Linked DNA regions of Homo sapiens: regions 1, 3 and 4 are each linked to region 2. The links are contacts of gene promoters, found by promoter capture Hi-C in blood cells and fetal thymus (Javierre and others, 2016). All regions are on one chromosome and are shown on one strand. Each heading gives the region's core, a stretch centred on a gene start or on the middle of the fragment in contact. The rest is flanking DNA. Distances are from core to core; before and after follow the strand shown. Region 1 overlaps EBF1 (EBF transcription factor 1). Region 2 holds the start of FAM200C (family with sequence similarity 200 member C). Region 3 overlaps RNF145 (ring finger protein 145). Region 4 overlaps RNF145 (ring finger protein 145).

Region 1 (6,253 bases), core at 142-2,641, 1.3 Mb after region 2:
GCTGAGAAAGTTTCAAATTAGGGTATATATGCATATTTAAAAATTATTTTTAGATACACCACGGCTTAAATATGTGGTAGAAATGTCACATTAATAAGCTGTTGGGCATTTTAAAAATCTAATCTTCAAGAACCAATTTATTAACAGCTATTTTTGATGATCACTTTCATATTTCGATATGACACAAGTAGAAAGCAAGAGTATGAAATCTATTTTTTAAAATAAAAATAAAGATTGAAATATATTTCATGTTATTTGCCTAAAATATTTGGCTTTCTTAAAAATCTGTTTATTTCTCAGTTGATTGCTCAGAGTAAATCACCATTTATAATTTTTGGTCTTGGTTTTATTTTCTTTAATGGATTTAATAATTGCATAGGATAATTCACTTTCATTTGGACACTGTGTTTTTTTTTTTTTTTTTTTTTTTTTTTTTGCCTTCCAAGGCAGAAACACAAAAGCCTGATTTTTAATAACTTTTTTTCTTTTGCGATGTCAAAATAAAAATGTCTTAAGTGGAGTTTTGTTTTCAAAAATTGCCTTTGATACCCTGGATATCCTTTCCTGCCATTCTCATTACAGGAAAAAAAAAAAAAAAAAAGTTGGGAGGGAGAGGGGGAAAGTAGGAACTCTAAGACATACTCTATGTGTATTTATTAGGATTTACTTTCTAAAAGATAAAAGGCACACATACACAAATCAGTACATAAGGCCTGTCTGCTTGTGCAACATTGACCAATGAAATATTAAATTATAGGTAGCACTATGAAATGAACAATTGTAAGAAGCACAGAATTAAGACATGTTTGAAGTGATTAATCGCTCTATGAATTAAACCTCCTCAAAATTTTATTTTAAGTCTCTCTAGTCAAAAAGTGCCACTACTAATTGATTTTCCCATTATGGGATGAACTTACCTTATACTCATATAAAAATGGGGGAGAATCATCTTTTGATATTTTTAAAGCAATACATCAAATATCATTTTACTAACAAGGTCATAGAGCTTAAGAAAAACTGCAGCTTAAGGCATTCTTTGACCACTTGGTGTCATAAATTCTATCAGGAAAGAGGGAGGAAGAGAGAGAGAAAGAGAGAGAGAGGAATAAGAACAAGATTAGTTTTATTTTCGATAATAGCACTTATGAGAAAGTCATTTGCCATAATATGACATCTCAGTAAAAGTCAAAATTATAAATGCATGCAATGATATATTTTGGTGGGGAGTGGCCTGAGAAAAGGTTGAATAATTATCTAAGTCTAAAAAATATCAGGAAAAGGAATATTTCAAAGCTTACCTGTGTGCTTTCATAATAATTGTTTAACCACCTCTCTGTAGCTTTCACTTTGAAAGGCAGTTCCTACTCATTATCCAATTGCTTGTTCTTTGATTATGTGCTGCAAGAGTTTTGGAAGTAGGTTAGCTTCTTGTCTACAGGGTTAATACAATGGCCTCCAAAAAGCAGATAGATGAGCGTGAAGAAGCTTAACTTTCCCTAGGTGTGACATAAAAATAATTGATATTTAGCCTTAATGAGTAAAACAGTTAATTTTCCTCTAGCTTGAAATTATTCTATCATAATTAAATACCAAGTCTGATTTAAAATTTCTTGAATCTTTGATTTTAGTTTAATATACAGTGGCTCCTTAAATCAGATGTAAGTCTTGATATAAACTGATGGATTAAATGATTACATTTTTTTTTCCTGTGAAATTCTTCCTCATACATTATGGATTTTGATAATTATTTAGAGTACAGAATGAAACACTTCTGGTCTGATAAGTTCTGATAACATCATCAATTGTGGAAGGAATACCTAGCCACTGTTCAAGTGTCTTTTCTTAGCTGCCTGTTTATTATAACATTTTTCCTATCAGAGATGCAGCTTTATGTGAGTGATGTCATATTCTTGACTAGAAAGTGGGGTTAAAACTCAAAAGGAATTTTGGACAAGCAAAATTTAAAACTATTTTTGCATTCTACATTTCCATAAACTGTTCTTGATCTTGGGTGGGATTAGCAGCATTGAGATAGAAAAGAAATGTACTCAATCAACCAAGATGTGTTGGTATGACACAGTATTTCACACCTTTTCAAAGTGTCTCATTAGACTATTTTGGGTAATGACTCTTAATTTTTGGACTCTACCAGGAAAGATGAAGCTTCATTAGAAATGAATATATAAGAATCTGAGATCCCTTATCCCTATGCCTTCATTGTAAAGCACACAGGATATAATATTTTAAAAATTCACCCACCAACTAGAAAATAAGAGGCTTGCTTTTGGGAAGGGTTGTTCAAAACCAAGTTTAGCTGGACTAAAAATAGTTTGTTTTCGTGTCATTACTGTTTTTGGTATTCCATTAGTGAGCATGCAGAATGCCCTGTAGGACCCAGAAGTTTATGGCTGCTGCATCCAGAAACAATATCTACTGCAGAAGCTCAAATGAATCCAGTGGGGGAGGTCTGAGGTTTAGTGGGCATCCTTTCAGATTTTCATGTAGTATTTGAAATATGATTACATTCTGTGATTGCTATAGTGAGTTATATATCTTTAAATAGTTTTTTTTAAGTTTAGCTTATCTCCCCTCTTACCATCTTGCTTTAAAAGAGTGATATTTTATAATTCAAAGAAAAGATACCAAATTGTATTAAGTTATCAAAACAAAACACTCTTCCCCTAAACAAAAGCCTGCTTGAGAAGCAGGAAATCGTAGTCACATAATCCTTGTATGTATGGATTTGAAAGTAGATGATGTAGTGAGGAGACCGTGAAAAGGTTCCCAGGACAGTGGGGGGTCCAAGGTACAATCATCAGAAATGCTATCAGGTTTCTCTTCCCAGCTAGACTTCTTGATATATTTGTTTTGATCTTCCCCGTACTTTAAGGTATTGATGCAAGTGTATTTTTTTCCTATTGATTGTTTCATTATATCCTGCCATGGCTACATAGATTTGATTAACAACCCTTTCAGTTCATGGTTCTTCATTGGTAGATAAACACATTTTCAGTATATCAATAAGTTCCCAAGGAATTCACTAGGCCAGCAGAGAGTTTCTTTCATATATTTGGGGAAATAAACAAACAAAAAAGGACACAGCAAGTTTATAGTCAGAGGCCATATTTCAGCAGCTTTCTCTCTCCTTTGGTAACATGTCAAAAATGCAGGTGATTTAAATTTCCTTGCACATAGAGGAATGAAGAAGTTTGGAATTTTTATGCATGATCAGGACCTGTGTTTGGGAAAATGTAAACTCATCACAGTGGAAAATGTGTTGTTTGGAGTCTGGGGGTGAAAACAAAGCTGATGGTTTTGGAGAGATTGCCGGAGCCAGATGGCCTAGTACTTCCCCAGTCTGGCGGGCCAACTGCTCCCTCCTGGATAATATACAGCCATTTGTTCGGGGATATTTACGCTAGAGCTGTTTCCATGTGAATGTTTGAACAGCATTAAAAACGAACATATTAGTAGAGATGCATTTATTGAACTCATATGACTGTACAGATAGTCTGTTCTCTCTGTCTTATATTGCTGAGAGCGATGAAGGAGTGTTTGGACATTGGTGAATTGTCTACATAGTTGTTGAGCAAGAATGATCTGGTTTTAGTGAGCAATTAAAATACATCAATGTTTGGAATCAGACTAATGGAAATAATGTTAGCACCTACCTTGAAGCTCCGTTGTGAGAATTAAATAACTTCATACATGTTAAGAACTTAGAACAGCGACTGGTACAAATTAAGTGCTTAATAAATTAGATGCTTTTATTATTATTATTATTATTATTATTACCCCATTGGGTTGACAAAGCCAATTGTATTTACTAATGTAGGTGTAAATGTAGTTACCATAGGAGTGAAATATCTTTTATTTGTGCTAGAAAAAGAAATACAATATGGGATTGTTAGAGTGATTTAGTTTTTTATGGTGTTTGAATAATATAAGGGGTTTTAGCTCTTTGAGACATAAAAGATGCATTCTAAAGCTAACTGCTTTTGGTACACATTCTCTTTTTATTCAGGGCTGTGATGTAACTGAACAGCACACTGAATCTGATATCATTCCTTCGCAACTTTCCTAATTCACTTCTGAAAACGGGCCTGCTTAGCTGCTGAGCTGAAATTACATCTTTGTAATTTGTTCACCAGTAGCCAAGCTGCTAATTGAAGCAAAATTATTTTTTTATTTTATTCCACTACTAATGTTGGATTGCTGTTTGACACGTTGTTTATGAAATGTCAGATTTGTAGTGTTTCCTTTGGCATGGTTTAATTTTTAACTAGTGTGCCTTCACCTACTGGAAATTTCTAAGACCAGATTAGCTAGCACCTTTTTTTTTTTCTTTCTTTTTTTTTTAATGACAAACAGTAGAAATTGGTGGTTGAATGTAATGATTATTATTATAGTGTGTTGATATTGTAGGTGTGCATATCATTTTTTGATTAGCTCAATTCTTGGTAATTTGCTGCCAAAGGCTTGTTGACAGTTTGCATTCAGAAGACATTTCACTTTTGGTTACAGCAGGTACTTTGTGCATTCATGAACTTATTCTCTTAGGTGACAAAGTAGGTTTGGCTTTTTATTTTGTAAGGGGAAAAAGGAGTAACATATTTTCAAGGTACAGTTTTGATTTAAATAGAAAATTAGAAGTCTTTGTTAGTTACTGATAACCTTTCTTTTCCCTCCCTCCAATCCTTTCTTCCTACCTTCCTCTCTTTTTCTTAATTTCTTTTCCTTCCTTTCCTTTCTTCCTTTTTCTTTTCTTTTCTTCTTTCTTTCTTTCCTTCTTTCTTTCTTTCTTCTTTTCTTTTTTCTTTTTCCTCTTCCTCTTCTTCAACTAATGATGATAAGTTTCCTTTTGTTTGCTTATAAATCAAGAAAGGTTCCTAATGAAAATATTTTGTTTCTAAAAATCCTTTGGATTTTGCTGAACCAAAGTCAAAAGTATTCTCTTCACCGCCTTTATTTTGTCGTGGAACACAAAGAGTTAAAACTATTAGAAAAGTAAACACAGAAAAACCATGTTCAATTCTCTGTATTTCCTTTGGCATCCTATTGAAGTGTGATCCCGGTGTACATTCACTGTGTATTTTTTCATTTTACTGTGTGGTCTTTACCCATAGTAAGTTTCAATTAACTTTTAAGACCTAGCAGTATTTAAGAAAAGCTAGAATGAACTACGCTTCACAGTATGTCTTTCAAAACAGTGGCAACTCAGGCAGGTTTTTGTATATTGATTGATTGGTTGATTTTCAAAGATATTACAGGTTACTTTATAATTGAGCGTTTAGAATTGATGATATTTTATTCATAACAGTGAAATTTCCAGAGATGTTTTTGCATAAGAATATGCAAGTTTAACAATTTCGATGTTTTCTTCTTCTTTTAGTTAATTATTTTAAATATCCTTTAAAAGCCCCTTAATCTGAAGTGAAGAGAGTATCAAAAAATAATATGAGATATTTTCTTTCTACTCATTAGAGTATGACAGCAGAAAAGGTAGGCTAGTATATCACAAAAATAAATCTGTTCCAAATATATCCACTTTTGACAGCTTGTTTGTCAATTTCACCAGGTTTTTAAAGTTGAGATGAGGTTAATGTTGTTTACTATTTAACTCTTCCTCTTATACAAGCATTCCTGTCACCTTAAGGGATTTATTTGCCATTGGCAGGATTAATTTAAACATTGTTTTCTACTTGATATTGCATTTTTGATTCTTAGGTTACAAACCTCAACTTGATTCACTATCAATTGATTTACTTAAATAATATATTTTATATGATTTTTCTCCCCCTCCCACCCATCTATATAGCAGGCATCCCATCTTCACTTCAGATAAACACATTGATTTATTTAAACCAGTGTTGTCTTTGTCCCTCTCACAACAGACAACCTTCCTCATAGTGAGCAGACTCATGATTTACTATGGAGGATGAAAATAAGCCTTCTTCTTGGTGTTTCATTGTCTGGGCCCTAAACCAGCTGTCTATTAAAATGGTTTCACTTAAAATAGCCAATGCTGTTTATATGCTTCTGTGATCTCCCAGCTGATCCAACCCCAACCAGCTTTACTCATACACCACAGAGGCACATATTTAAATTAGGAAGAAACGCAGAAACTTCTCCCGAAGTTGGTGTTAGCAGGATCCCTGTCCTTTGGGGCTTAAAGTCTGGGTTTGCTGAACTGTGGACCAGTGTTGATGTGTATGCTAAATGTAGATGGTAAAATTGATGTAGGGCTATCAGT
Region 2 (6,483 bases), core at 1,112-3,611:
TGGCCTCTGGAGTAGACTAAATGTGTTAGTCTTTGAATGGAAAACAACTATTTTCTCATCATTGGGTCAATATTGACTGATCAGTAGTAGGTCTTTTACCATTCTGGACATAAGTCTAGGTGTAGAAATCCTTTCCTTTATCATAGAGGATATGGTTTACATTACCGTTTGTTTTCATTGTGATTGCCCCTATGTAACAATCATGAATATTAGATTTTTTAAATTGTAGAATATCCTAATATTTATAGCCAGCAGCTGTTACTTTGTTTGTAAAATTTGCAAAAAAACAAAACCTGAAGTTGGTTTATTGAAAGAATTATAAGGATAGCTTCTAGGGATATTAGTAATAGATTGCCATGATCCTGAAGCCTCTTCTCAGAACACTGTGAAGATAATACTGACAGTAGAATCAGTGAAAACAGCCTAACAAAACCTCTGACATCAGTATATCAACTTTTAACAGCCCACTCACTGGCTTTTCTAAACTACCAAAAACCACCTGTAGGATACTGCATTAAGTCAGCATCTCAGAAACAGTGGTGTGAGTAACTGAGTCAAATTGTCAAGTACTTTGGATATACATAGTGTCGAGCTTTAGATTGGTATGAAATTAAACAGCAATGCAAATAGATTTAATTCCTATTTACTTTAAGAATGAAAAACAATGTTCATTTTCCTACCTAAACAGGGTGGTTCAACATAAAGGCTGATGTTGTGTCCGTTTTGTATTTTATCTTTTGTTAAAGATACATAAATGACAATACTTAACTGTGAGTGGTTTGTAGCATTATTTCTAATATTTGGCAGAAAAGTTGTTTATGGGACAGGGAGGGGAACCTGGATTAGCTTCTGTGAGTTTAAGAAAATTTCAGCATCTTGTCACCTAACCTTTCTGGACCTCTTTCCCTCTTCTATGAGGCCTGGTTTACTTAGATTTAGGAAGAATTCTGTAATATCCAGAATCATGTCTTCTGTTTTATTTTGGAAAAGTAATGCCTAGCCAGCCTGGCCAACATAGCAGAGCCCTGTCTCTATGAAAAATACGAAAATTAGCTGGGCATGGTGGCACACGCCTATAATCCCAGCTACTCAGGAGGCTGAGGCATGAGAATTGCTTGAACCCGGTTCAAGAAGTTACAGTGAGCTGAGATTGCGCCACTGCTCTCCAGCCTGGGCAACAGAATGAGACCCTGTCTCAAAAAAAAAAAAAAAAAAAAAAGAAAAAAACATAATGCCTAGGACATTACTCAGATTGAGCTTTGATTTTATTATCTCAATAATAGCTGCCTTTTGAGTGCGAGAATTATGTACTGTAATTGTCATAATGTTATCTCCTTCCTCAAAAGAATTTCATGGGGTAATGGATGATATGTAAGTTTTACAAAAAGCACATGGAATTAACTCCAAGTAACCTGCACAAATCCTAACCGTTGGAGTCAGGACATGAAGCTAGCTGTGGGATTCTGAAGCCTACCCCTTTCTCTAGTATTGAAGGCCCTAATTTCTTGACCAACAAGGCTGGTCTTTAGCAGTTTCTTCCATCCACAAAAAACTTCAGCAGCCCGTCAATATTTACCAGGCTCACCCTTAACACCTGAAAATGATGTATCTGGCCCACATTCGTTGACGCCCCACCACTCCTCACACACACTAGTCTTATGGAATGCTTCTAACAAGATTGTACAAAAATGAGTAAACTCATTAAGTTTATAAGAATTCTGGAAAGACCCCCAAACAGGAAAGGGCTATATTCCGGTTTCTTTCAACAACGTTTCCTAGTTTCTACTTGGGATTTTTCTCTAAAACCTCTCTAATATGGGTTTATTTCTTTGAAATCATGTTGTTGAAAGAATTTAAAATAAAAATATTTCAGATATATGATGATGACATGGAAATTCATCCCTATGCTCCCACTTACGGAAAGTGGGATCAGCTTGCATAGGCAACAGTACACAAGCTATGGAAGCTCATCCTCCACTGCTGAAATGTCTAATCTGAAATTACAATGAGCTTCCTTCTCTTTTTCTCTCATTTATTCCACATGGAACATGGCAATTATCAGGCGTTTTATCTCCAAGCTCAAAGCCCGACACAATATAAAAGTTTAAGTGCTCTGCATGTTAAAAAGAACTATGTGGAGTTTACAGCCCCTTCCATTCCTGAAATTGTACAGTTCATCCTCTCTGGCAGACACAATAAACAAACGATTTCTTGTTCCACGTACACAATCTTAAAAAAAAAATTGGGAAGGGCTAGCGCGCATGCTCAATACTCAAGCCAGCCAGCCCATCCCACAGCCCTTTGCTACTGCGCCTGCGTGTGGGAGACGCCTCTCCCAGTTTGCGGGCGGGAAGCACCCTGGAGAACCCGGATGGAACCCGGGCCTGGCTGAGGCGGAGGTTGTTGCGGATGCTTCTCTCTCCAGGCGCACCGCAGATTCCTGCCCGGGGGTTGGACCCGAGGAACCGCCGTCTCTACTGGTTCCGACGGCCAGAGGCTGGGCCCTAGGCTGAGCGGAGAGTGGGACTGGAGCCTGAAACGGGCGCCTAAAAGAAGCCCGTGCATCCCATAGGCCTGCGCCTCAGGCTTGGAGACGGGCGGGCGGAGACCGCGCTGAGTCTTTTTTTTTTTTTTCCTAGCAGCTGGCGTTCTTATCTCACCCGGGAGGCTGTAAAAATCTCCGTCCTTAACAGTAACACCATCAGGTCCTATCAGTTAAGAGCTGCTTGTTATTTGCATGCATTCTTATAATTAAATCTCCTAACAACCCTGTAAGGTAGGTACTGTTATCCCCTCTGGAGGAACTGAGGCTTGGAAAGGTCCCATCCTGTAAGTGACAAAGCCACGATCCCAGGCGTTTGCCCCTGGAGCGTCTGCCCAGCCACCAAGTTCCTGCCCCCATTCTCCTGGCTATTGATTTTAACTGTAAAATGTAATGGTTAAATGCTCTGCCTCCCCAGACACCTGCGCCTATCATGATCTTGCATACGCAGTGGCTAGAAAGAAGTTGAATTGTATTTGGTTTGGAGTTTTAGGTTTACAGCTGCACTTTGGTGTTTTCACTGCTGGAATATATATATATTAGCATTCCCTAAATATTTGTTTTGTGAGTGTTCACTTTTAACTGATTTTTCTCATTTGTAATACTTTTTCATATCTACCCTTCATAAACTTGCAAAAACATTTTACTTTGTTATATCAGATCTTTCATTAAGCATCTGAAGATAATCTCTCAAAAGAATCATGCTTAAAATGAGTGATATCTATCTTAAGATAATGCTTTTTATCTTTTTATTATGGAAAGTTTCCAAAATACATTAAAATAGAACGGTGTAATGATGTATACCCATCATCCAGCTTCAAGAGTTACCAACTTAAGGCCAGTCATTTCTTTTATCTCCACCCCGCTTTGTGCATGTTTGTGAGTGTGCTGAAGTACGTATTTCAAAGGAATCCCAGACATCTTATTTCACTTGTAAATAATTGTCTGTATCTAACAAATGAGGACTTTTTAAAAACACAACCACAATACCATTATCATGCCTGTTTAACAATATCTCCTTATCATGATGCTTTTTAATGTTTACGTTTTTTAGGATATTGTAATTCCTAAATACCACAAAAGCGCAAGTGCAAATTGTGAGGTTCTAAAACACAAGCCTCTTGGGCAGTAAGTTCATCTTTGAGGCCCTTGAAAATTCTTGCCACCTGTTCTCCCTTTTTGAGGGTTATGGAGAAGAATACTTTAAATTGATTTTCCTAAAACTGTTCAAAACAGATAAATTTTAAATTAAAATATACTTGAGAGACATAGTCAAGGTGGATAGGAATGGACTCTTAACAGATCTTGTAATGATTTCCAGTTTGTTTTGTTTTTGAGACAGAGTCTCACTCCGTCACCCAGTCTGGAGAGCGCAGTGGCATCATCTCGGCTCACTGCAACCTCTGCCTCCCAGATCAAGCGATTCTCCTGCATCAGCCTCTCCAGTAGCTGGGATCACCATGCACAGCTAATTTTTGTATTTTTAGTAGAGACGAGGTTTCGCCAAGTTGGCAGGGCCAGTCTCAAACTCCTGACCTCAGGTGATCCGCCTTCCTCGGCCTCCCAAAGTGCTGGGATTATGGACATGAGCCACCGTACCCAGCCTTTTTTTGAGACAGAGTCTGGCTGTGTCACCCAGGCTGGAGTGCAGTGGCGTGATCTCAGCTCACTGCAATGATCTCAGCTCACAGCAACCTCTGCCCCCTGGGTTCAAGCGATTCTCCTGCCTCAGCCTCCCGAGTAGATGGGACTACAGGCATGCGCCACCACACCCAGCTAATTTTTGTATTTTTAGTAGAGACAGAGTTTCACTATGTTGGCCTGGCTGGTCTGGAACTCCTGACCTCAAGTGATCTGCCCGCCTTGGCTTCCCAAAGTGCTGGGGTAGCAGGCGTGAGCCACCGTGCAGGGCCCCTCTTGTAATGATTTCTAATGTGACTAAAAACATTTTCCTTTATTCCCTCTTCCTCCCCAAATATTACATGATAAATATACATTAATAGAATACAGAAAAATAAGCATTTATGGTAATGTCATAATTTTATCGTCATTAATTAGAAGTGGTTCTAAGCAAAAGTGGTCATGTAGTCTCATTACTTGACAAAAGAAGTCTTAAGATCAGCTCTTTAAACTTCAGGTTGTCTTTTTTGATTGGCAGACATCCTCCAATTTAACAGGCTCATAACAACCTTGTAACAGCTCAGCTTATTTTATTGGAGTACACTTTACAACTAGTTCATCTTGGTAGATCCACTTGAAAGCTAATGCTTTAAGTGGATATTCTTGGCTTGTGATTTTTCTTTTAATGTCCAAAGTGGGCATTCAGATTTAAATGTGTACCTGTTACTTTATTTCAGCCACATTCTCTGGCACAGAACTTTGGAAACTTTGGGGATCACTTACTTATCTTGGAGATAGAATGTTTTCTAAGGTATATTTGAGCCTACCTGTGGATTATGCCTTTACTCGTTGCTAAAGGGAGAGAAAGAGAAAAGATATGGCTTTCATTTTAGGTTTCAACTTTCATAGGAGGCTGTCATCAACTCAGAAAATGTAGAAAATTTAAATATCTATTAAAGCATTGGGACCATTCACTTAGAAACCTAGAATATTTGTTAGCTAAGGATTGGTTTGAAGGATACGTTTTTATTCCCCTAAGCCTGACTACTTAACCAGGTTGTGTTTCAGGACTGCCTGAACAACATTATTTCATATTCTTTTGTTCTGCTTCTGGAGAAGATATGTATTAGTTCTAAGGTAGTGCAGGGACGTGTATATTTTGAAAGGGTTTCCCAGTGATTGTGATGATATGGTGTCTCTTGTCACAGATCACTGTTCTAGTTACTATTTATAAGAATTATCTAAAATACTTACAATACAGATTCTAGGCCCCCACTCCATAGCTGGAGAATCAGAATCTCTATGGGTAGGGCCTTCTACATCCTGTCTTTGGGTTAAACCAAACCTTAGGAATGCTGCTTATTTTGTGTATGTGCATGTGTGTGTTCTTGACTGCTTTCCCTTAGAGGTATTTAGGTGGAAAAGCATCATGAAATTCGTTATTTTACTTAAGAGTGTTCTCCTATGAGAGGGATTTTTCTGAAGTCTCGGTAACAAGAATAGTTGTGTTTCCCCTGAGCAAGTTGTTTTGCTTTTTTTTTTTTTTTTTTTTTTCCACAGAGACTTGCTCTGTCGCCCAGGCTGGAGTGCAGTGGCATGATCTTGGCTTAGTAGCTGGGACTACAGGCGTATGCCACCATGCCCAGCTAATTTTTTGTATTTTTAGTAGAGATGGGGTTTCACCATATTGCCCAGGCTGGTCTCGAACTCCTGAGCTCAGGCAGTCCACCCACCTCAGCCTCCTAAAGTGCTGGGATTACAGGCATGAGCTACCACGCCCGACCATTTTGCTTTTTTATATGGACACTATGAATCATGGACTGATAGTGTGTTACACTTAGCAGCAAGGAAGCTCTGAGCCAATTTGTAGCCTACCTTTGCATCAGGGGTGGCTTAATCAGACTTAAAGACCTATTTGAAATTCTCTGCCTAAGTTGGAGTCAAAACTGCTCAAGGTTCAAATAGTATTACAGACCTGTTTAGTCTTTAACTATTAAAAAGAACTACCATGTTCTCACTCATAAATGGTAGCTAAATAATGTGTACACATGGACGTGGATAATGGAGTGATGGGTAAAGGAGACTTGGAAGGGTGGGGTGGAAGAGTGGGGTGGGAGGGAGTAGATGAGAAATAATGAGTACAATGTATGTTATTTGGGTGACGGATACCCTAAAAACCCTCACTTTGCCACTATGTGGTCTATGCATATAACAAAATTGTGCTTGTACCCCATAAATGTATACAATTATTTTAACCTCCATGTCAGAATCCACCCTTCCTTATTTAGTGAATTGCTCCTTTATTCAGTGATTCTTAACTG
Region 3 (6,646 bases), core at 4,147-6,646, 1.2 Mb after region 2:
TACTGGGAATTAAAAAAGGAAAGGAAAAGCGTCCTAATTCTCAAGTTAGAGGACAATTAAGAGATGATACTAATAGTTCATGAAACAACTTTTCTATTAATGAAATAATTGTTAAAGGGAAAATCTTCATAAATACGTCTTTGGAGTTGCTTGAACTGTAGGTAATTTCCACGTTTAGCTTAGGAGGATGTGTGAGTTAGTTTTAGCCATAGAAATAATTGGTTATTTTATCTGTAAATTTTATTGCAGTTTTTAACAAGGAATATTAGAACTATGGTCTACTTATTCAAATTATGTAGCAAATTTTCAAAAGGCAAACATTTTAGGAAATGGGTTGTCATTTTTATAGTACTTAACCTATTGCACGAGGTTTCAATGTAATTTTCCCTTATTTTTATATTTTATTTGAAATTTGCTTTTATTTAATTTTAACTATTTAGATAAGGACATATATGTGTGTCTATGTATATGTTTGTGTGTATATATCCACCTGTATTAAAATTAGGCATAAATGTAAAACTCTTGACATAACATTGTTGTATATACATTTCTGTGTGTGTGCTTAAATCTATGCATGTGTGTTTATAAATACGTACATATTTCATATAAATCATAGCTGGCTTGATTTTTAAAAAATATATTTAAGGTTTTAAGGCAGATTGCCCTATTAGATCTATAATTCATCATCTAACACAGTACAGCTACTGCCTTTCTTTAAAAAGTTAAAATTGCTGAATCTCAAAGCAAAGCTACTGACAAGTTTACATTTGTTCCTTAATTTCTGATTATTATTATTATTATTATTAGTTTTTGGCAAGAAAAAATGTAAAACACTTTCCAAAGTATGCAGCTTTAATTTTTACCATAATAATTAACTTTCTTCTCTGAATTACTGATTATAATAGGACCACACTGTATAGCATTTGACCTTGTGTGTGGTAACTTTTACTTCCTGACTATATTATAATTAAAGGTAGGAGAGATGATTTATGTTATTTGTGTCTCTTTGAGATGCTTTACTTGGATTTGAGAACATATCACAGATGTTGATGTTTAATTAAAACAGCTTAAATTTTTTTGTAGCCATGAGCTTTATTTCAATTGAAAGCCAAAGTTGTTTAGCTTGAACTAGCCTAAAGGGTTTAGAGAAATGGAGAGCATGATGGAGGAATTTCTAGTGGGACGTAAGAGTGCTTGTGTTTTGCTGAGAGGGCAGTTAGTTAATAAGCAGCTTGGTTTATGAGGAACAGATTTGACAAGCTTGGATGGAAAAATTAGGAGTGGAGGACCTCAAATGCCAGGCTCAAAAATTTAGAGACAGTGTTGAAAATATTACGATAGTAGAGCTTTAGGAGGATTAGTCTGGCTGGCAGTGTCCTGGATAGATCAGGGCTGGAGGAGGGAGGAAAACCAGGTAGTAGATCTTACAATACAGTTGCTCTCAGTCATGTCTCCCACTTACCCTGACCACAACAGATGTGAGGATGAGTATACCTGCTCATTGGAGAGTCATTCCTATTAGTCACACTGCACTCTCTGTAGCAGAGATTCTCATCACAAGTGGAAACAGTGGGAAGAGGGTGTCATAAGATTTGAAAAAGACCACAAATTATTCTAATACTCCCTCCCTGTCTTAACCAGGAAAAATTATTGAAATTGTTAAGGTTTAAGGCTACAAAAGCCTGAAATAATTTGAAATTGCTAGGAGTAGCAATTGAAAGCAAACTATTGAGGAACAAAAGAAAATCAGCTGTACTTTGCAATTGACTGAGTGTGGTGGCTTTGACATGCCAAGCCTGTGTGACTTGGTCTGAACTCTAGTACAGTGACTGGCATGGAGAAGGGTGTTCAGTGGGAATTTGTGAAATTTGATCATGGCACCAGAGATGTTAGCTGCTGATGTGAGTGGTTGTGCTACTAGGTGGCAGGCACTTAAAAAGAATAATTTTGTCTTTCTCCAGGAGCTTGTGGAAACACTTCCGTGCTGTAAGCCTTTGTTTATTTTTATTGGTATTCCCTGCTTATATGGCTTATATGATTTGCCAGTTTTTCCACATGGATTTTTGGCTTCTTATCATTATTTCCAGCAGCATTCTTACCTCTCTTCAGGTAAGCCTATGATTAATTAACTCTATATAATAACCAATTTTGTTATTTTTCCTCCCAGAGGAGGAATTAAATTTTTTCAAGATGAATGATTATAAGTGGACTATTCAGGTGATAACTTCTCTCTCTCTTTACTAGAACACATTACATTTATTTGAGCACAGGAGTTAGATGGCAGGTTATGAAAATATTACATAAACCGGCCGGGCGCGGTGGCTCACGCCTGTAATCCCAGCACTTTGGGAGGCCGAGGCGGGTGGATCATGAGGTCAGGAGATCGAGACCATCCTGGCTAACAAGGTGAAACCCCGTCTCTACTAAAAATACAAAAAATTAGCCGGGCGCGGTGGCGGGCGCCTGTAGTCCCAGCTACTCGGGAGGCTGAGGCAGGAGAATGGCGTAAACCCGGGAAGCGGAGCTTGCAGTGAGCCGAGATTGCGCCACTGCAGTCCGCAGTCCGGCCTGGGCGACAGAGCGAGACTCCGTCTCAAAAAAAAAAAAAAAAAAAAGAAAATATTACATAAACCTATTGATGTCACTGTATTTTTTATGAAGGTAATTAAGCCTTTCAGTTTCTCTTTTTCAAAATGGTATGATACAGAGGTGTCATATAAATCTTAAATTGACAAGTAACTAAAATATTAAAAGTTTTTAGAGCTTGTGTTAGAGCTTATTTGGAGTGTGTTTTTTAAATTCCACTCAAAAATACCAATAGTTCCACGATGTATATAAATATATATGTATATGATGTGTGTGTATTGCACACATACAGACATGATACATGTTTCACAGACATGCACACACAAAATATTGCCCTAGAAATGATAAGCTTATTGTAACTTAAAGGAAGATCTTTGCTACCTAGGTAAAGGAAAACATAACACAGTGAAGAGTTATTCATTATTTTTTTGCAGAAGTAAAACTTCTTTGCGAGTTGTAGAACAGGAATGACTATGGTATGAGGAAAATTAAGATGGAGTTGATGAGGTTTGGTGACCTAAGGAATAAGGGAAAAAGATGAATCAAAAAATTGATTACTCATCAGAATCATTTTAGGAAAGTCACGTCTGACGGTGTGGCTTTTTGTTTTCTATGCCTGGATTACTAAGATCACCCACATTTTAGTCATCAGTGTCTTCTCTTTAGAGTTGATTTTTTATTTATTAAAACTTTTTTTTCCCCTGGATACTCTTCTGTATATTTGAAATATTGCACCCTAAAAACATCAGGAATGTGTTATTGTTTAAAGCCTATGAAAAAAGTATCTTAGTGATCATATTTCAAGATACGTACATTTTTTTTTTTTTTTCAGGTTCTGGGAACACTTTTTATTTATGTCTTATTTATGGTTGAGGAATTCAGAAAAGAGCCAGTGGAAAACATGGATGATGTCATCTACTATGTGAATGGCACTTACCGCCTGCTGGAGTTTCTTGTGGCCCTCTGTGTGGTGGCCTATGGCGTCTCAGAGACCATCTTTGGAGAATGGACAGTGATGGGCTCAATGATCATCTTCATTCATTCCTACTATAACGTGTGGCTTCGGGCCCAGCTGGGGTGGAAGAGCTTTCTTCTCCGCAGGGATGCTGTGAATAAGATTAAATCGTTACCCATTGCTACGAAAGAGCAGCTTGAGAAACACAATGATATTTGTGCCATCTGTTATCAGGTAACTCCTTCAATAAGAATGTGTTTGGGTAAGTCATACAGTGTATCCCTTGGGACTGTAACCATATTAACCAAATTCAACTTAAATTTCTAGGCAAAATTATCTTCTGGATTAAAAAAAATGGACCTCAGAAATTATATTAAAGACCTGATAAAATATTTCCATTTTATTTCTAAATTAAGTTTTAAATTTAGTCCCTTGGGTTCTAATGTATTGTTGTTTTCAACATTATTGCTCACCCATAAATAAAGGAAAAACAGGTCAGGTGCATTTTATATTTACTCCTGAATACACACTCACACGGACTATTGAATATACTATCCATGAGGGGTCAGCAACTCCTGAAAAGTGGTGTGCCAAAATTCTGACTCTTTTCCCTCTAGTATTTCCAGAGTGGGGAAGAAATATTCATGTACCTAACATAGGTAGAGAGAATATGTGCCCACCTGTGGGTTGCTAAGTATCCGAGGGTACAAGCATTTGGTGGGAGTGGGTGAATATGGTAAAGGCTACCAAACTGATGTAAAATTGAAGTTGGCCTACCTATAGTCTTTAGCACATGCACCATAAAGAGCCTGATGATTGTCTTCTATTACAAATTAAAGGTAGTACTTAAATCACTTTGGAAATAAAACAACAACAAAAAGACCTAGAGTTTAATCATCAATCACCTGTGCAAGAGGCCGCACTGTTGGAAATAATGGACAGAGATGATGGCCAACAGCAGAAACTATGTCCCATTTTTAAAGTCACTCAAAGAGTGTAGGCTGGTAGAATAAAACTATAGATAGTGTCAACAATATACAGGGGATATTCTTACTTCAGGATTGCTTTTGTAGTTTAGGTGGGGTATGTATGTATTTGTGTATATTTAAATTTGTGCATATTTAATTTTTTTCTGATAGTAAAATACAGCTATCAATTTTTTATTTTGATTAGAACATACTTTTTGATCCTAGCTAAACAATGTTCTCCAGGCGGTTTTGCATTTGAGGGGTCTGAGGAGTAATGTAGGGTTCCTGCCTCCCTTCAAAGTAGCCATTCTCTTAGTTGTGTTTATTATTAAAATGAACCCTAGCTCTTTTGTGCTAGGTAGCCTCATTGTACTCAGGACAAAGCACATCAAAAACAGAGTCGGAGCACCTCAGCTTCAGCCGCTGATGTCTGAATATTCCATCTCGGGGATTCAAGAGTCCTGTTTGTATTTCCTGTTGTCACATCACTTTTTTTGAGGTGCTAGAACTACCTGTTGATATCACATCGAAAATGAGAGTAAAACTGCTTAGCTTCCCAGCTGGCTGCTTTTCCTTGGATGGCTTTCTGCTTAAAAGTTGACTCCCAGATGTTACCAGTTCTTGGCAAGGAATTTCTGGGATATCCACACCTGCTTGTTTTGGGACTTGAAACAAAATTAATGGTTGATTCACGAAACGTTATGTCTTTATAACTTTAACTTCATGTCTTCAGGCTTCTCTCTTCATATATATCTTATGCAAGGAATATTAATGCAAAGTACACCACTCCTTATTCCAGTGGTTATCAAATGTGAGTGTATAAAAGTCACACAGGTGGCTTGTAACTATAGATTTTATGAATCCCATCGTTACATATCCCACTTCAGTAGGTCTTGGGTGGCCCAAGACTATGTGTTAACAAGTGGTTCTTATGCAAGTTGAGAAACACTGGCTTATATAGACCAAATCTTGAAAACTGGGTATATACATTGTCCGTAATGAGAGAGTGCCACTTCCTTGCCAATACCCTGGTATTATATGGCCGATTTTGTCTCTTTGCCAATAATTTCATTATAAACTGTTCAGCTGTGTTGAAGCAAAACTGTAGAAAAAGTCCTGTCTTCATCAGATTTTCTGAGGTTGTAATTATACTCTTGTCATACCAGTGGAGACCCAGTAATCATACTGCAACAATTGTGTAACACTTGCATTTCATACTCAGGCAAAACCCAGTTATAAAGGTAGCTTCTTCCTCATTTTTGGTTTTTCCTTCACTTTTAGAAAGTACTTAGCCAGTAGTTCTTGCATTATTTGTATAAGGGGGATCTGTGATGGCAGCAGGATTATTACTGATATATAAAGTAAGTTTTATTCTAAGATCTATGTTACAAATTTTCTATTGTGGGAAAGAGATGTTAGAACCAGAACTTTGGGGATAGCACCAAAGATACTAGAAAACAGACATTTATAAGGTATCTTTTTTCCCCCTCTTTTAGGACATGAAATCTGCTGTGATCACGCCTTGCAGTCATTTTTTCCATGCAGGCTGTCTTAAGAAATGGCTGTATGTCCAGGAGACCTGCCCTCTGTGCCACTGCCATCTGAAAAACTCCTCCCAGCTTCCAGGATTAGGAACTGAGCCAGTTCTACAGCCTCATGCTGGAGCTGAGCAAAACGTCATGTTTCAGGAAGGTACTGAACCCCCAGGCCAGGAGCATACTCCAGGGACCAGGATACAGGAAGGTTCCAGGGACAATAATGAGTACATTGCCAGACGACCAGATAACCAGGAAGGGGCTTTTGACCCCAAAGAATATCCTCACAGTGCGAAAGATGAAGCACATCCTGTTGAATCAGCCTAGAGGAGAAGCAGCAGGAATGATGCTTTGATACTCTGGAGGAGAAGTTAACTCAAGATGGAATTCATGTTCTGATTTGAGGAATGAAAATGAGATGATCAGGCAGGAAACTGACATTCCAAGGATCTAATCCAGGAAGTACTCTCAGTGGGGACCACCTGCTTTCATCCCCTGACATTGTGGGAGAAATTTTGCAATGTATGCTAATCAAAATGTATTTATATGTTCTCTGCTGATGTTTTATAGAGGTTTGTGAAGAAAATTCAACCTCAGCAACT
Region 4 (6,913 bases), core at 3,382-5,881, 1.2 Mb after region 2:
GCCCTTTACACTAGAGGATTCACTGGGGGACCATTTGGGGAGTTATGTGTCTTGTGTGGTGAAGGGGGGAATGCTGTGGACTGGTGTCTGACTCACCCTGGAACATCTTTTTTTTTTGAGTTACACTTTTATTTTTATTTTCTTACATTAAAAAACTTTTTTTTTTTTTTTGAGACAGAGTCTTGCTCTGTCGCCCAGGCTGGGAAAACATTTTTTAGATAAGTTTCTGGGGGAACACATGGTGTTTGGTTACATGGACAAGCTCTTTAGCAGTGATTTCTGATATTTTGGTGCATCCGTCGCCTGAGGAGTGTATGCTGTACCCAATGTGCAGTCTTTTATCCTTCACCCACCTCTCACCTTTCCAGGAGGCCAGAATTCCACTATATCATTCTTGTGCCTTTTCAGCCTGCAAAATCTAAAACTACATTGTCCAAAACTAGCCACATGTGGCTGGTTAGCACTTGCAGTGTGGTGAATTGAGATTAAGGTGTGCTGTATGTGTAAAGCACATACTCAATTTTGAAGACTTGGTACAAACCAGGTTAACTTTTAATACATCTTGTTAACTTTTAATATAGATTGAATGTCTATATGATGATGTTTAGGATATGTTAGGTTATATAAAATATATTGTTGATTTCACTTGTTTCTTTTTACTTTTTGAAATGACACTAATAGAAAATTTAAAATTATATTTGGCTTACATTATAATTCTAATCTGATATAAAGGACTAGCAATAGACTAGTTGCTTGTTGAGTGTTTTGACTGTGGAATGAAAATGCCTTATAGGGTTTTCCTGTATCTTCTGATACAGGAAATTGTAGAGCAAAGGATGTAAGTTTCTTGTGAACTAGACAGTGGCCCCGAAAGTCTGTGTAGGATTTTCTTGGGTCCTGTTCAAGAAGGCCTTTTAGATGGATGAGAAGACCTCAACAGGGATTGACCTTCCAGATTCCCAGGAGCTGAGAAAAGAGCCAAAAATGGCCAGTTGAGGGTGTATACCAAGCACCAAGGGTACTGCTGCAGGTGAGAGAGCCACAGTGATAGGAACGGTTTCAGAAGAACCCATAAAAGGGTCCAGGGGAAAATAAATCAGTTTTAGATACCTCAAGTCTAGGAAGCACCAGTAACAACCACATCATTGTAAGAGTCCAGTTAAGTAGGAACCTGCCTACTTCCCTCCCTCTCCTTCTTCCCTACCCACTTCAATCCTTGGTAAGTCAGAGAGAGAGGGAGAAGTGCTAGGTCAAAAAAGAGAAAGAAGCCAGCCACAACCTCCCCACCTTCTCTCCCACTTGCAGGTTTTCTATCTTAAAGCATAAAGGTAAAAATTAATGCTTTCCCTAGAATGCCTGAACTCTAGAGTAAGGGATAAGTCTCAACTTTAAATCTGTTTGAAAGTTTCAGTTATTATTAAATTGAGACAGTAACCTAAGCTAGAGTAGAAAAGTTATGGGACTTGCCTTGGATTTTATCTAGGGGCAGGAAAACCACTAATCTCTACAGAGTGGATTTTAAAAGACAGCAGAGGACAAAAATAATGTTGCTTTATGACTATCGTTATGAGTTGGCATATTTATTAACGGTAACATTCAATAATGAAGATATTTGCCAAGTTAGAAAGCTTGTAAAGTTTTAGTTTATGATGCATATACTTGTATTATAAATATGAAGCATATTTCTTAAAACTCTTCTTATCAGTGGCCATGGTCTTCTGTTTACTTAACTAAGATTCAACTTTCCAAAGTCCATAAACTATTAAGGAGCATGTTTTCTTCCAACTTAGATTTTAAAATAATTTTCTGGTGTTTTTCTTCATTTCAGTAACAAACTTTTTTGAAAAACTAGGTAATTTTAATATGCCATGATTTCTTAGGGTTGCCAACCTCTTGGAGATATTTCTAATAGTGGAATCCTGAAATCTAAAGAGTACATTGGGATTTTGGTTTATGCAGAGTTAAAAGTTGAAATAGGCAAATCAGAAGACAAACAACTTATTCTTTTGGAACTTCAGGGGAAATTCCACTAACAATATGACTCCTTCCTTCTTTTACGTCAGCAGGAGTAGTCTTCTCTTAAATACGCCATATGAGTCATATTCTTCTATGAAAGAAGATAAAGGGAGCCTGTAACCCCAGCACTGAGCACCACATGTGCTGGCATAGACTTAAGGGAATTTTCAGAGCTTAGAGGAAGTTTACATTGTGCTCAACAAGGACATTTAAATTTCATAGCTATAAACACAGTGAAAGCCAGATCATTTGGTGGCCTCTTGTTTTCTATATAATTAGGAGTTTTTCTTTTCTTTATGCCTTTATGATTATTTTTCACATTACTTTAGTATCAGTTTTTTAAAGGCCAAAATTAATGCTTTGTGAGATAAAATACCGTATGTGTTTATGACATAGTAGATTGTTGTAAGTGTTTGGTCTTATGTAAAAATGGTTGACATTTTTGTATTTTTCTAACACAAATTGAATTTTCCTTATTCAAAATGCTTGGCACCAGAAGTGTTTTGGATTTCTGATTTTTTTACATTTTGGAATATCTGCATTATATTACTGTTTGGAAATCCTTAATCCCAAAATCTGAAATCCAAAATACTCCAATAAGCATTTTCTTGGAGCATAATGTTAGATTTTAGGGCATTTTGGATTTTAGATTTTTGGATTAGGAATATTCAACATGTATATGGATAGAATACAAACAAGTCCCAAATTTTCATTTTGGTTTTCATTGACAAGAAGTGAGAGAATATGATTAATTATTCTAAATTAATCTGGAAAATAACATTCAGTAATCTCCAAGAAATTCTGAAAGGAGCAATGAGAGAGGACTTGTCCAATCAGTATGATGGAGCAGGGTGGTACCATCATTAGAATAGATCACTGAAAACAAAAAGTAACAAGTTCTTATATAGACCTAAATATGTAAAAGATTTTGGAGTTTACTACAGTGGCATTTCAAATTAATGAGAAAGGAATGGATGATTCCAGTAGCCAGTTTTGAGATAACCAGCTAAACATGTACAAAAAACAAACTTCGATCTTTATTTTCTTATTCCACAATAAATCAAATGTATTAATTTTTAAGTTAAAATTAAAAATTAGCTAAAAATTACTAAAAGAAAATACAGCTATTTGTATAATCTTGAGTGGGGTAGCCATGTAATAAGCCATGGCACTAAAGGTGGGTACTATTAAGAAAAAAAATGGTTTGACTATTTTCAATACATACTTTTATAAGAGAATAAAGTTATTTAAAATATTAAGACAAGGGACATATTAGAAAAATGCAATCATGTGACTAAGGATTACTATTTCGATCAGGCAGTAGGATACGTATTCTAGCAGAAAAATGGGCAAAGAATGTGAACATTTCACCAAATAATTGCAAATGTTTTCATATACTTATTGATAATGTTCAGTGCTGTTAGTAACCAACAAAATGCCAATTTAAAAAATTTGGGAAATATTCCCTGTTCTTCCCATCTCTAAATTATACTCACTATGGCAAGTTAATAGAAAAATAGCCACATTATACACTGGTAAATTGTTGCTGGAGGGCAGTCTTGACAGTGTGTCAAAGTCTTTAAAAATGTTTTTTTCTGATTCAGTAATTCCTAGCCTAAGAGAATATTAGGAAATGTGTTCCAAGTAGTTTATACAAGGATGTCATAATGTAAAAGCTTATTCATACAAAGCATTTTATAATTATGGAATATTTGGAAAGGGCTAAATGCAAATATCATGTCACATACATTCAGTGTACCCCAGGGTGTTCTTAGGACTACCTTTGGGTTGTGGGATTATAAGAGACTGAGAGTTTCCCATTTTGTTCTTTGTATTTCTGTGTTTAATGTAATGATCATGCGTAATCCCCAGTGAGAAGAATTTATTTAGTTTTTAGTTTTAACTTATGATTTAGTTATTTGGGGCAGTTTACTTGGCCCTCCAAAAATAAAGATTAAAAAATTATCAGAACAAATATTGTTGCAGTATGATCTTGAACAAGTAATTATATCTCTTGGATTTTATGCTTTCACCTATAGACCAGAACAGTTAAATATTGCGTACCTTTGGAAAAGAAGTTATGTATAAACATTAGCAACTGAATTGTCACAATACTGAATTAGACATTGTTTAAAGTTTTCTTCATATTACACATGGCATCACAGACGACCAGTGGAGATTTATGCTGCTCTTTCCAGATCAGCCCTACAGAATTAGTATTCAAAATTCACAGAACATGTGAATATGTAATTATAGTCAGATGAAGTTTAAGTTTGATTTAAAATATTATCTACGAGATTTTAGTTAGACTTCTTCAAAAGTTGTGTTATTATCCTTATCAACAGTGTTTTTTGTTTGTTTTTATTTTGTGGATGCCAAATACTCAAAATTAAATGTATTCTATTCCCTATTTTAGGTCAGTTGGTGGTGTGTACTTTATGCTCCTGTGTCATGAAAACAAAGCAGATTTGGCTGTTTTCAGCTCACATGCTTCCTCTGCTAGCACGACTCTGCCTTGTTCCTTTGGAGACAATTGTTATCATCAATAAATTTGCTATGATTTTTACTGGATTGGAAGTTCTCTATTTTCTTGGGTCTAATCTTTTGGTACCTTATAACCTTGCTAAATCTGCATACAGAGAATTGGTTCAGGTAAGACTGCTGACAACCACAAACAGGTAGATAAAATTCTACATAAATGTTAAGTACATTAAAGTTATAGTTCATTTTTATTTCACAGTTATGGTACCATTCATTTTTGCAGTTTCAAAACAGCTGCTATTTTCAGCCCAATTAGGAGCATCTGAAAGATTCTTGATTATGTTCTATTGAGAAGGCAGTAAAGTGAAGTGGTTCTCTTAAAGCAGATTTATCTGAGATCGAACCCTGATGCTGCTGTTCACTAGCTGTGTAACCTTGTGATAATTGCGTTACTTTCTGTAAAACGGAGCTAATAATGAAAGCTGTGCTTTCCTCATAGAGTTCTGTGAGATTTAAATGAGTTTAGTACCAGGCAGACAATGTTCCATATGTGTTAGCTATTGTAATGAAGACAAAAATAATAAAGAATTGAATACCTATAAGTCAAATCCTGCTTTTTCCTTCTGATTATAGTCCTACTGTGACTATAGTTTCTTCCCTTTGTGTGCCTAATTTAAACAGAAAAGTTAAATAGTTCTGGGTTATAATATGATAGATTTCATTTAGATATAGTACTTGAATTGACTTTGCCAACATAACATGCTTTTTGTAAAAGTTTCTTCCCTACTTTTTTCAGCCTTTGCTCTAAGATAAATTACTCCCAGATACAAACAATACACATTTGGGAAATAAATGTTTCTGTTTGGTTTAATTGATAGTTTGTAATATATAAAATAGATTTTAACCTGACATTGGTATAAAAAGAGAGTGTTAAAATGTCACTGTCTTCCACCTCTTGACTGTGTCCTTAAGGTACAGGAAGCTCTCAGATAGAACAAACTGATAACAGCTAAGTGAAGTATTCTCTTGTGGCCCCAGGGGCAGATCTTTGAGAATACTTTCTCTAAGCTTTTGGCCTTAGCCTGATTCTATCTTCGTCTTACACAGTGATTAACTTGGGCAGTTTTCCCAGGAGTAGATCTTCCAGAAAAGGGATTATTTCTACAGTCAGTGAAGAGTGGCTTCATGGGGAAGCAGGGCAGGAAGGGTTATAGTTGTATTCAGGGTAATAATGACAAATTTAAGATACATATTTTTTCTTTGAATTCAGTCTTATGAGGGTTATCTTTGTTTGTAATAAATAATGAATATTCAGTAAATACTTATTGAATATTAAATATTTATTGAATAACCTCAGCCTTCATTTTTTAATGTCATGTTTAGTTGGTTGCCATAAGATTCATACATCAACTAGATGTAGTTGTTGGAAATATAGGTTATAAAATGCGTGACCAGGAAAGAATCAGATAAGCAAGAAATGGAAACAGACAGGTTTTTTTAGTGGTCTGTTTCTTGAATGGAAAGGAAGAAAAATATTCTCTGCCTCGTAATGATGAGTTTACCTGATAATAATTTTGCAGCTAGTTGGGCAGTTTCCTTTTTCTTTTAATCTTTTGTCACTGGGGAAAATAGAAGTTAATAGACTGGGTTGTAGAAAAAGCCTTTGCTTTACTGATGAAAGAATTTTAAATTTAGAATAATCTGCAAGTCAATTTATTTTAACTTAATACTTAAAGATGTTTATACCTTATTGAAACATTCTGGTATCACATTGAGAGATTCCAGCAAGACCAGCTGACTGCTAGATACTGGTTTTGTAAGCTGTCCAGCAGAATTCCTGCTGTGTCACCAGGGTCTGGTCCCTGACATAGTAACTCTAGAAACTTGGTTACACCTATGCTCTTAGATTGAATCAGATTCTGTGATTGATTTTTCCTAATCAGTTTCATAAGAAGAGTGTTTTATAAACTGGAAAACTAATTTAGTGAGTTGCAGATTATTAAGCCTTTTTTTTTTTTAAGATATATCCTTTTCCTAGTGTTACTTACACTTGGCAAACCAAATGGAAAAACATAGCTTGATAAAAACACAGTAGGAGGAAGGGGAATTGATGTGTATGGGAGAAAAAGACTTGCTAACTATCTTTGCTCTGCAAAATTTTTTTCCAGTGATTAAGTACTCTTCTTCCATTGAACTGTTTCTCATTTGTGACATTTCTGAATAAACCCTGAAAGTTTTTACTTTTGCATTTTTTTTCCTAGTGCCTCAAGCAGTGTTGTATCAATTCATGCTAGTCCTGATTATTTTGATTAGACATGAGTGTTTACCAAGTCTCCTCAAACTACCTTTTAAGGTTATTTTGTACTGAATATGACCTTATTTTGACCTTATCCCTGAACTATTAGGGCAGTTTACT

The links. The method cuts DNA at HindIII sites, captures the fragments that hold promoters and counts their contacts. A CHiCAGO score of 5 or more calls a contact.
Region 1: a contact is called between a fragment that was not itself captured here and the fragment with the promoter of FAM200C in region 2, in 2 of 17 cell types (total CD8 T cells and total CD4 T cells). The highest score is 5.9, in total CD8 T cells.
Region 3: a fragment that was not itself captured here is called in contact with the fragment with the promoter of FAM200C in region 2 in 2 of 17 cell types (total CD4 T cells and fetal thymus); the score reaches 7.5 in total CD4 T cells.
Region 4: a contact is called between a fragment that was not itself captured here and the fragment with the promoter of FAM200C in region 2, in 1 of 17 cell types (total CD4 T cells). The highest score is 6.1, in total CD4 T cells.

What each region holds. Positions count from the first base shown.
Region 1 is chr5:159,088,349-159,094,601 of GRCh38, reverse strand. All of the region lies in intron 4 of EBF1 (EBF transcription factor 1), which reads left to right. Among named protein-coding and RNA genes, the nearest start is that of EBF1, 8.4 kb to the left of the region's middle. RefSeq lists an enhancer at 2,696-3,825. The HindIII fragment of the contact is 192 bases long and covers 1,296-1,487 here.
Region 2 is chr5:160,395,932-160,402,414 of GRCh38, reverse strand. It overlaps FAM200C (family with sequence similarity 200 member C), which reads left to right and starts at 2,361. Exons shown (of 2, transcript NM_022090.5): 1 at 2,361-2,776. It overlaps SLU7 (spliceosome associated SLU7), which reads left to right. Exons shown (of 16, transcript NM_006425.5): 16 at 1-774. RefSeq lists enhancers at 2,672-2,821, 2,715-3,400, 3,720-4,219. The HindIII fragment of the contact is 7,568 bases long and covers 1-6,483 here.
Region 3 is chr5:159,158,395-159,165,040 of GRCh38, reverse strand. RNF145 (ring finger protein 145) reads left to right here. Exons shown (of 11, transcript NM_001199383.2): 9 at 1,962-2,109; 10 at 3,419-3,775; 11 at 6,006-6,646. The coding sequence ends at 6,371. Among named protein-coding and RNA genes, the nearest start is that of RNF145, 48 kb to the left of the region's middle. RefSeq lists an enhancer at 2,710-3,909. The HindIII fragment of the contact is 4,917 bases long and covers 2,938-6,646 here.
Region 4 is chr5:159,174,387-159,181,299 of GRCh38, reverse strand. RNF145 (ring finger protein 145) reads left to right here. Exons shown (of 11, transcript NM_001199383.2): 5 at 4,433-4,668. Among named protein-coding and RNA genes, the nearest start is that of RNF145, 32 kb to the left of the region's middle. The HindIII fragment of the contact is 1,873 bases long and covers 3,695-5,567 here.